Linked DNA regions of Homo sapiens: region 1 is linked to region 2. The links are contacts of gene promoters, found by promoter capture Hi-C in blood cells and fetal thymus (Javierre and others, 2016). All regions are on one chromosome and are shown on one strand. The core of a region is centred on a gene start or on the middle of the fragment in contact, and the rest is flanking DNA. Distances in the headings are between cores, read along the strand shown.

Region 1 (4,953 bases), core at 331-2,830, 7.2 Mb before region 2:
AGGATGAAGTTTTCTTGCAGACTCTGGAGAACTGGTTGACAATGAGGATTTGCTTCCCTGAACTGCATTCCTGTGTTTTAACTGTGTGCTTGATGATGTCCTTTGATCATAGTTACCTGGAAAAAAACAGAACATCAATAGAAACCAGGTACAAGCAATAAAGTTCACCCTGCATCCATCTGTAGCACAGAAAGTGCCATGAACAAACTTGACCTCTTCACTTAAAAACAAAAGCTCTGTACCTGTTGCTCTGTTTTTCAACTGTGTACCTCCAGAGCCCTCTGATTTCTGCATTGCTTCCCTTTCACTCCTGCAGTTTAAAAAAAAAAAAGTTGATTTCAAAATTTGTTTGGAGGGGCATTTGTTATCAATAAAAAGACAAAACCAGAACAGAGTATACAATACAGTAAAAGACACACAAAAAAGTTGATATGGAGCAAAATACTGGAAAAGACTAATGAGAAAACATGAAATTATGTCAACTTCAATAGTATCAATAACAGCAAAATAATCATCTCCAAGAAATGATGTACAAAAGTCAACTTTTTTTCCATTCAAATTGTCAAAATAAACTGTTAGAAACTCACTTCCAATTCTCTGACCACATTAGAAAACACAGACTAGATTTCTGAAAGGAGTGGTTGGTACATTCCCTGTCATCTTCTCCATCTTCTCTGGCCTCTGTATTTCCAAAGCTCCAAATGTTAACATGTGCACATCAAGCTCTACTTTTCCAGTGACATAATGAACTCTCCTACCCAATGTATCACAAGCTCCTTAAACTGAATGTAACTAAAACTGAGGTTGTCACACTGAAGTTATTATGAACCCCTTGTTAACCCAGGGTACCACCAGTTTTCTGGTCCTCAGACTGAAAAACTTAGAATCACCATTGTCTCCTTTTCCTTCATTTCCTACACTCAATGCTACACGTGATGAGAAAGAAAGAGCTTTGGGCTCAAATATGGGTCTGCATCTCAGTTCTACCAATTATGAAATTTATGAATTTAGGCAGATTATTTAACCTCCCTAAACCTCGACTTCCTGACCTGTTTAAAGAGGGAAATAAAAGCCTGTCAAGGTTTTCTGGAGGTGCAAATGAAATTATCTCTCAAGTTACTCACCCAGGGAATACTGGTTCACTTTTCCCTTACACAGTTGCTTTTTTTCTGCTAATGGAGGACTCTAGTTCATACCCCAAGGTTTCCAGCTAATCCAATCAATTTCTACAATTGTATCTCTAGCAAGAAATACACACACACAAACACACACACACACACACACACACACACACACACTCATATACCCAAGTGCCTACTGGTATTTTTAGGCCAAGCTTCATTCCCAACTTCCATGAAGCCTTTCCTCATCTTGGTTTCTCAAATGTGTATTTCTATGGCATTGATTTCTATCCTGTGTCCTTATTTCTACTTGATTACTCTGTTCCCTCACTTCCACGACAATCTAGTTATTCTATTAGCACACGTCTCATTTTAATGCCTTTAATAATGACTGCCTCTCAAGTATAGTGTAAGATCTTCCCTTAGGACAACACAGGTAAAGTCCTCTTCCACCTCCAAATGACACTTTTTCAAATATTTGATGGCATTAACTCTTAACTCCTTCATTTTTTCTTCTTCAGGATAAACACTGATACTTTTTAAAATGATTCCTCACATGAAATGCTTTTAATCCACTTAACAAGTTAGAAATCCTCAAAAGGAGGACAAAGCTCCATGTTATAAAATTTAGCCAGATATCTCAAACATGATGTACCAGCTTAAAGTCTGATACCATGTAAAGATAACCTAAATGTAAGCTTGCTTCTGCACACTGAATAATTTCAATTTCCTTGATTTAGTACATTGATCTCATTTATCTCATCCCACTACCAGCAGATGACTTACTTCCCAGTATCACACTTCACCTCCATTCCCAGGGCCATTTTCTAATACTACGGTAATTAAAATCTCATTAAAGTTGTCAGATAATAGTCTAAAATAAGCTGAGAGAAGCTTTAAATATGTTAACCTACTATTGTACTTCTGTGATCATTCAACAAGTATTTAATATTGTGCCTGACTTCTGTTTTGAGAAGCTCCTGGAGGGGGAACAACACAAGTTTCTATTGAAAAAAAAAATGCATCAGTTTCCTCAACTCTATAATTGGGCATAATTACAGGAACTACTTTAAGTGTTGATGAAGACTAGTAAGAATATATGTAAAACAACATTTCCATAATGGGAGGCATGCAGTAAGGGCCACATGAGTCTTAGCTATTATTATAATTTTCTTTACAATGGTACAAAGTGTTCTTCAGTATTACTATTACTAATAGTGAAACCACATGTTTTGTCATTTTTAAAAAATCTGGCTTAACATCTTGGGCTACATCAATTTGAAGACCAGCTGAGGTCCAATTTCTCTTGATCATCAATTGTTAACAGCTGCAACAGATAAAAGCGATGCACAGCAAAGACGCGTACCCACAAACATAACAAGGGCACAGGCAGCCATATCAAATTATGATGCACATTTTTCAATACTACCTACCAATTCAGTGGAAGTTTTGGATGGAATTTTATGGCTAAATTTCTATCTTCCTTCACGTCAAAAAGTTGTTCCTGTAACAAACTAATGGGGAGGTGTTGCATTATATTTTGAATGAGTTCAAAAAGTCACCAAAACTCATTTGAAAAAGTTTTAAACATGGTAGAAAATCGAGCTTCTACAGTTTATGAGTATACAGGACAACTTTTATGTACAATATATAATTTTCAGCATTAAACATACAGTAATGCAAACACGTCTACATCCCCTTTCAAAATCCTGTATTAGAGAATTTCCTTCCAAAACAATTGCTTTTTCACTTAAAATTTTTATCCTTTACCTTAACGACAAATTACAGTTGGCTCTCCGTATATGCGGGTTCCACATCTATAGATTTGACCCAACCACGGATACGGAGAGCAGACTGGAGGACTTTGGCATGGGTGGATTTGGGTATCTGAAAGAGACTGGGGGGAGGGAGGGAGTCCTGGAGCCAATTCTCCACGGACACCAAGGGACGACGGGAAATGTAGTCAATTTTTTAAAATAATATCCACCTGGAAGCATGCCACTGACAAGCCTGGAGCATGAGTTGTTTGTGAAAGCAAGCTTTAAAAATCTTATCCTTGGTAACCCTTTCAAGTGGTTTTTCATTAAATAACATGTAGAGGATGGTGTAAAGGGGCAGTGATGGGGAGAAGCGAACCTGTAAGAACTATTTTGTGTTACAAATATTATCAAGGTCACCGCTCATTCTTTTACAAAACAAGATAAACATTCTAATTATAGATATTAGAATCCATAAATCCACTTAACTTCGAACACCTAAACTATGTCACAATATCAGAAAGCAAACAAACCACCCTATGAAGCCCACACATTCCCCTTAAAGCTTCCTTGGTTGCTACAGGTCATCTATCTACAAGGGACTGCCGGTATCTGTGTCAATGGTAGGAAAGTGTACTTTCTATCATTGTTTGGGCAGCTGATATAGCCTATTTCTTTCCCTGTATGTACTTTCTCCCGTACTCAGCTTTAAGACCACTGAACTAAAACAATTCTCAGTCAGCAGAGCCCTGCTTTCTAATCCAGGTCTAGAAAGTTCCAAACGTGTAAGTAAGAGCCCCACTAAAGAAACCATGTTCCATTTGTAAAGCTCTGTCAAATTCTAAAAGACCCAGAGCCCAATAGTCACTTATCCCAGTCCCTTTTTTACCAGAAAGTAAATTCAAAGGGCCAGTATTAGGGTCGCACAATCTGCTTAGGGGTCTTAGAATCTATTTTCCACCTTCCCAGCCACCCCTCCTACACTCACTTCTAGATACTTAAAGACCAGTCCAGAGCCAGGATGCTATCAAAGTCAGCAAAAGAGGAAGACACAGAAAAAAAATAAAGAAAAAACAGAGATTTTTTAAAGGGGCCGAGGGAGGAGTTTACCAGTTTCAATTAAGGTTAACGAAGGCTACTCTCGACTGACCCTCTACCCCAGGAAAGGAGGGGTACACTCCAAGCGCTCACGATCTCAAGGGTCCTTAGCAACGGGGTCCAGCGGCCCTAGCAACAGATCAGGAAGCAAGCCGGCTTGGCAGAGAGCGCAGACAGGACACCTGTACCCGCGGTTCACGGCTCCGGGGACCCGTTCCTACCGCGCCTCTCTCCCGCCGCGATCCGCACACCAGCTGCCCCCCACCGGGGGGGGCTTATGACCGGCACTCGGTCGGCCAACAACCGCGGCTACCGCCACCGAGCGCCTGCGTTTGGGGAAATGAGGCTCCGCGCGGCCCGCCCCTGAACCTGGTCGCGCCGCGCAATGACGTCAGACGCACGCTGCGTCGTCTAAACCAATGGTAAGAGGTCGCGGAGGCGCCCCAGAAGAGGGTTGCCCAGGCAACCAGGCGCCAGGAGTTCAGGGGGCAGCTCACGCACTGCAGGCGCTGTCTCTGGCGACAAAGGGGCACGTGGTGGAGGATGTTTTTCGAATAAGAGGTCCGGAGAGCAGAGGGACGATGACGGGTTCCCAGTCGCCTGCGCCCTAGCCTCTCTTCAGTCCATGTGCTTAACTCCTAAACGCTTTTCTCGCACACTTAATACTCATTGTTCCTCAGCTATCTTACCCTCAATACTCGGAGAACTGAAGACTGTGAACTCCTCCCCCCGAGTCTTCAGGGGTGAGAGCCGAAGCCATCTGCATGCCCAGCTGTGGGATTTTCTTGTAGTTTCCTGTTCTATCTGGCTAAATCATAAGCCTAGCTGTGGAAATTCGTTTCCTGTCGTATTTTATGAATCTCATATGCTATTGCATTCTTCACAGTATATCCGCATTTAAATAGTAAAAAGCACGATTTTGTGCTCTACATTATTTTTAATAGTAAAAATATTTAATAGTGAAAAGCACGATTTTA
Region 2 (4,812 bases), core at 746-3,245:
TTCTTACCTAATAATGACAGCAAAGGAAGGGAGGAGGAGGACTCCCCTGTAACTCTCCTTTTTTCTTTTCCTTTTTTTTAAATGGTGGGGGGAGGGTTCTTTTACAAATGTCTTCCAAAGGACACTGTCTTCTGTCTCATTAGTCCGGTGGATCACATAGCTATCTAAGGAAGACTGGAAAAGAAATTTTCTTGCATTTTAACTGCCCTCATGGACAAGAAGTGGTTAAGTCTGTCCTCACTGGAAGTAGATTCTTCTCACTAACAAGTACATATCCTCTTTCTTCTAATTCTTATGAATAAATCTGGTGAATAGAAAATTGGTGGTGGCAATGGTGGTGCGGGATTGGGGAAAGAATTGGGTACTAATACTTAACTGGGTACCTATAATTGTGGGCCAGCCCTCTCTGCAGATGAAGAGACTGAGGCTCTACATAAGAAACTTGTATAAGGTAAATTGGCTAGAAAGTAGTGACACTTCCAACACGGACCATCATCTAATTATGATGATGATGAGGGTGATAGTTACACTGGTTAATATTGAGTGCTTACTACACACCAGGCATTGTGCTATCTACTTTATGCCGATTATTTCATTTAATTTTCAAACCTACACAAAGGCAGTAGTCTGTTCTACAGGTGAACTAACTGAGGCTCGAGGACACATATCTAGTAAACATGAGATTAAACTCCAGTGATGCCTCTAGGTCTGGGCATTTCTTTACACTGTTCTGCTTTCCTGTTCTAATGCCCATATGGTCTCCAAGACTACTGCCTCTGGGCTAAGCATTTTGTTAACTTAAGATACTTCATCTGCAAAATGGGGATAATTATACTTCATAATTCCTAATAGTAGTAAAGGTAACAATAAATTTTAAGTGATTAACAATGAAACAACCATAGCAGGACAGCATTATTATTTTTGAATTTACCTCACTAAATTGTAAATTTCATTTATGCCGTTTACCTAACGCTCCTGGACTGAGATTATCCAGGGCAGCAGTTCTTAAATTTTTTGGACTCAGGGCCTCTCTATAATGTTAAAGAATTACTGTGACCTCCAAAGAGCTTATGTTTATGTGGGTTACACCTATCACTACTGCATTGAAATGAAAACTGAGAAATGTTTAAAAACAACAAACGCAAGCTCCCTTAGCTGCCAGTGATGACGTCGTACACAAAGCGTATCCTCCAGGAAACGGTATACTAGTGAGAGAAGGAACGTGAGAAAGACAGACAAGGTGTCCGTATTATTATGAAAATTGTTCTGAGGTCATCGGGATTTCCAGAGGTCCCTAGACCACACTTTATGAGAACTGCTGCCTTAGGGTAAAGATGGGGTGCCAGGAGGTTGGCGATCAGTAGCGTCTGATGAACGAACCATGGGAGCCTGGGGTTGTTCAGATGAGGAAACCAAGAGTTAGGCCGAAATAAGCAGCGCCGGAGCTCCACTGTATTCACGGCCGCTACTGAGGCTTCCCAGCAGCCTCGGCCCTTAGCAGCTGTCCCCTCATCCGCCCCGAGGTACCCTCTTCCCTGGTCCGGTTTTTCAGGGGCCCTCTCTGGCGCTCTCCGCCAGGCTACGGGCGTCCCGGGTGCCCGGAGACAGGCCCCGCCCCGCCGCCGGTCCTCGAACTCCTGGCTGCCAGGCAACCCTGGCGCGTAGCCCGGGCGTCACTGCTCCACCCCGTCAGGCTGAACCATTCCCTTCAGAGACTTTCTCAAGAGGGAAGGAGAAAAGGGAATTTGATGGAACGCCTGAAAGCTGCTCTGCTCCCGTTTTCTCTCCTTAATTTGAACGAACACTTCTTTTCTTCTTCTAGCCAACTGTCTCCTGAAGGGAAACGCAGCGCCTCGCCTCTCCCGCCGGAATGTCCCCCACACCAGTCCAGGGCCGCGAGTGGTTCGGCTCGTCAGGCGGGGCCGCCGGTCGGCGCGGGTTGGCTCTGAGGCGGGGGCGCGCGCCCGACGTGCGCGTAGGGGGCGGGGCCGCGCGCAGAGGGCGGGGAGGTGGGCAAGATGGCGCTTGCCGAGTGATTCTCCTCGAATACCTCCTGCCGGCGCGGAGACACCGGGGCGGGGGTCCTGCCGCAACTACCTCCCTTCCTCCTCTCCCCCGCCCCCGGAGCCTTCATCCTTCCCTTCCCCCCCCACCTCGAGGGGCGGGCCTGGTTCCCGGGACACCATGTCGGACTCTGAGGAGGAGAGCCAGGACCGGCAACTGAAAATCGTCGTGCTGGGGGACGGCGCCTCCGGGAAGGTCAGTCCTCGAGCAGGCCCGCCGTCCCAGGCCTGCAGGAACCCCGGCGGTCCCCGGCCTCCTCCCCGCCGCCCGGCGTCGCCTCGTTACCCCGAGCCCTCGGGCTTCTAGGCCCGGGCCCTTCTGGTTGTGTGGCCTGAGGCCGGACACGAAGTGGGCGCTTGGTGAAGGCCGACGAGAGCTGTCCAGCTCCCCCTTAAAAAAGAGTCACTTCCTAACTCCCCGCCTGGATTGCGAACTCCTGCAAGACTCGGGCCAGCCTTTCAGCTTCCCGCCTCTCAGGACTGGCAGGGATTTGCCAAGGCATCTTAGCTCCTCTTACTTGTAGTCTGGGTCACACTTACTCCTCCCCTCCCACCCCCTTTACCGTTTCTGATGCTTCTACTGCATCGTGAGCTCCCAGGAGCGTAGCTCTGGAATCAGTATTCCCCGGGTGAGAATTGGGGCTCTGCCACTTAGTCGTCGGGTCATTGGAGGGCAAATTGCTAATCAGTTTAAGCTTCATCTGTAAGATGGGTATTGAAAAGGGCCGCCGCAAAGGGAGAAATGTGAAAATACATATTAAATGTGAAAATACACATAAAACCTTTAGAGCACAGTGTCCACTCAGTACACTCTAGTTGCTATTTTAATATCATACCTGTTCATCACCTCTGTTTCCAGCTCAGCACTCGATACAAGCAGTCAGTCAACAAGTGTTTATGGAGCTCCTGTTACGGGTAGGATGCTGAGGGTAGAGCTGCTTGCGTGACAAAAGGGATCCCCTGTTCGAATGAATGAATGCGGGCGTGAGAATATCAGGCAGCGTCAGTCTTATTATCTCCTAGGCAGGGGCTCCTACCCCAAGGCTGTGGAACTCCTGAAATGGAGTAAATACTGCCCGGTACGTGCTCTGGGGAGAGGGTCCATAAGATCTCAGAGGGGTCTATGATCCCTCCACCAGCAAATAGTGAAGAGCCTCTACCCGGATGCCTTCTTTCCCATGCTTCTGTCAAAGGCGCCAACACTTTCTGGGAATATTGCTAAAGTTTATCACCCCTGTACTCCCCTTCCTTATCCCAACCATAGTCTAAAGAAACCCAGGCTTTTATTTCCTGTTTAAGGCTTCACATTTCCCTGTTGCTGGTTGCATTTCGGACCCTGGTTTCTCTGGTGACGACTTCTCTTTGCATCCTCCCTGACAGTTGGCACTGCCCAGATACCTGCTTCTGCCTTTGGTTCTGACATTTGAGTTTCGAGGTCACCTGGGAAAGATGTAAAATTTTATATGCAAAATTTGAAGTATTTTTTTGTTTCTTTCTTGTCTTCTTGGATCCTTTGTTACAGATTTTTAAAGCTGAGGAAAACAATATGCTCTGATTACCTTTAAACGTTGGGGGAAGAAAGGAACTTGGGGTAACTTTTCTTTATAAAGTATATTAATTTTTGTATACTTAGTAAACTTTTCGAATGAATGAATTGCTATAAATAAATCATTGTTTCTAACACCTTTATTCAATAAAAAGTTTGTTAGATTTTTATAGTTTTCTCATCATTTAGATTTTCTTTTGAAGGCCGTCTAAGGTTTTGGCTCTTAAATTTTACTGTATTCAATTCATAACTGATCTTATTTCCCATTTAAAATGATAATGACAACTCATAACAATACATTTGTAAAAAGACACAAAAATTGCTGGTTATCCTATATGCTATCATAATTCTTTAAACTGTTGTTCATTTTTCTAACAGTATTTATTGTACATATATTACTTAGTGAAATTTGTTCATAATTTTGCGTCTGAGTTTTTTATTTAGCCTATCATACATGTTTCCTCTTTGTTGCTAATTTAGTGTGAATAATTATGGTTTTTTATCTCTGTTTAAAATTTTTTCTTGTATAGGACAGGATAATTTTTTCACTTCCATGTTTTTGAATTAGTATTATCATTCTGCTTCAAAGGATAACAGTTAATATTTTTTATGGTGCTCTGACTTAATCTTCATTATCTTGACTAAATAACTTATTTTAAAACTGTAACAGCTTTTTCTAACAGGAACTTCCAGACACAAACATCTGACACCTAACCTTCTTTCATTATTCTTAAATCAAGAATTTTTTTCTCCATACCCTATTCAGTTCTCAAATACTTGGCAGCCACCAACATTCCCATTCTTTTTCCTTTATTGTTCTTTTCTTTGTGAACTCAGCCTCTCTTTCATTCTTACTTGTATCCTGATTTAACTCTTGGCTCTTTTTTCCTGGCATTTGTTTTTCCTGCTCAATCTAACTCTGAGCATTTTTCAACACACTGACAGATGCAATAGAGTATTGAGATGATGACTAACAGTTTCTCCAAGAGAAATTTAGCTCCTCCTTCCAGTATCACGTGTTTCTATTTCTTTCCTTTTCTGATTCATATTTTTTCTTTTATTACATAGTCTCTTAAGAGCTTTTTGAGGCAAAATATTCTTTTTTTTTCTGTCTTTTCAGTGTTTGTAAATGTAGCATGGTTAAAAAATGTTAGTAGAAATTTACCAAGTCAAAAATGTTAGTAGAAATTTTCCAAATCAAAA

The links. The method cuts DNA at HindIII sites, captures the fragments that hold promoters and counts their contacts. A CHiCAGO score of 5 or more calls a contact.
Region 1: a contact is called between a fragment that was not itself captured here and the fragment with the promoter of RAB28 in region 2, in 7 of 17 cell types (non-activated CD4 T cells, total CD4 T cells, fetal thymus and 4 more). The highest score is 22.4, in non-activated CD4 T cells.

The regions. Positions count from the first base shown.
Region 1 is chr4:20,699,823-20,704,775 of GRCh38, reverse strand. PACRGL (parkin coregulated like) reads right to left here and starts at 4,318. Exons shown (of 9, transcript NM_001258345.3): 1 at 3,989-4,318; 2 at 243-310; 3 at 1-116. The coding sequence starts at 294. RefSeq lists an enhancer at 4,086-4,205. The HindIII fragment of the contact is 483 bases long and covers 1,339-1,821 here.
Region 2 is chr4:13,481,523-13,486,334 of GRCh38, reverse strand. It overlaps RAB28 (RAB28, member RAS oncogene family), which reads left to right and starts at 1,995. Exons shown (of 7, transcript NM_001017979.3): 1 at 1,995-2,259. The coding sequence starts at 2,185. It overlaps LOC105374495 (a long non-coding RNA gene), which reads right to left and starts at 1,886. Exons shown (of 3, transcript XR_925413.1): 1 at 1,381-1,886; 2 at 8-174. RefSeq lists silencers at 1,534-1,593, 1,556-1,850, 1,844-2,463 and enhancers at 1,734-1,853, 1,113-2,020, 1,816-2,110. The HindIII fragment of the contact is 2,971 bases long and covers 1-2,760 here.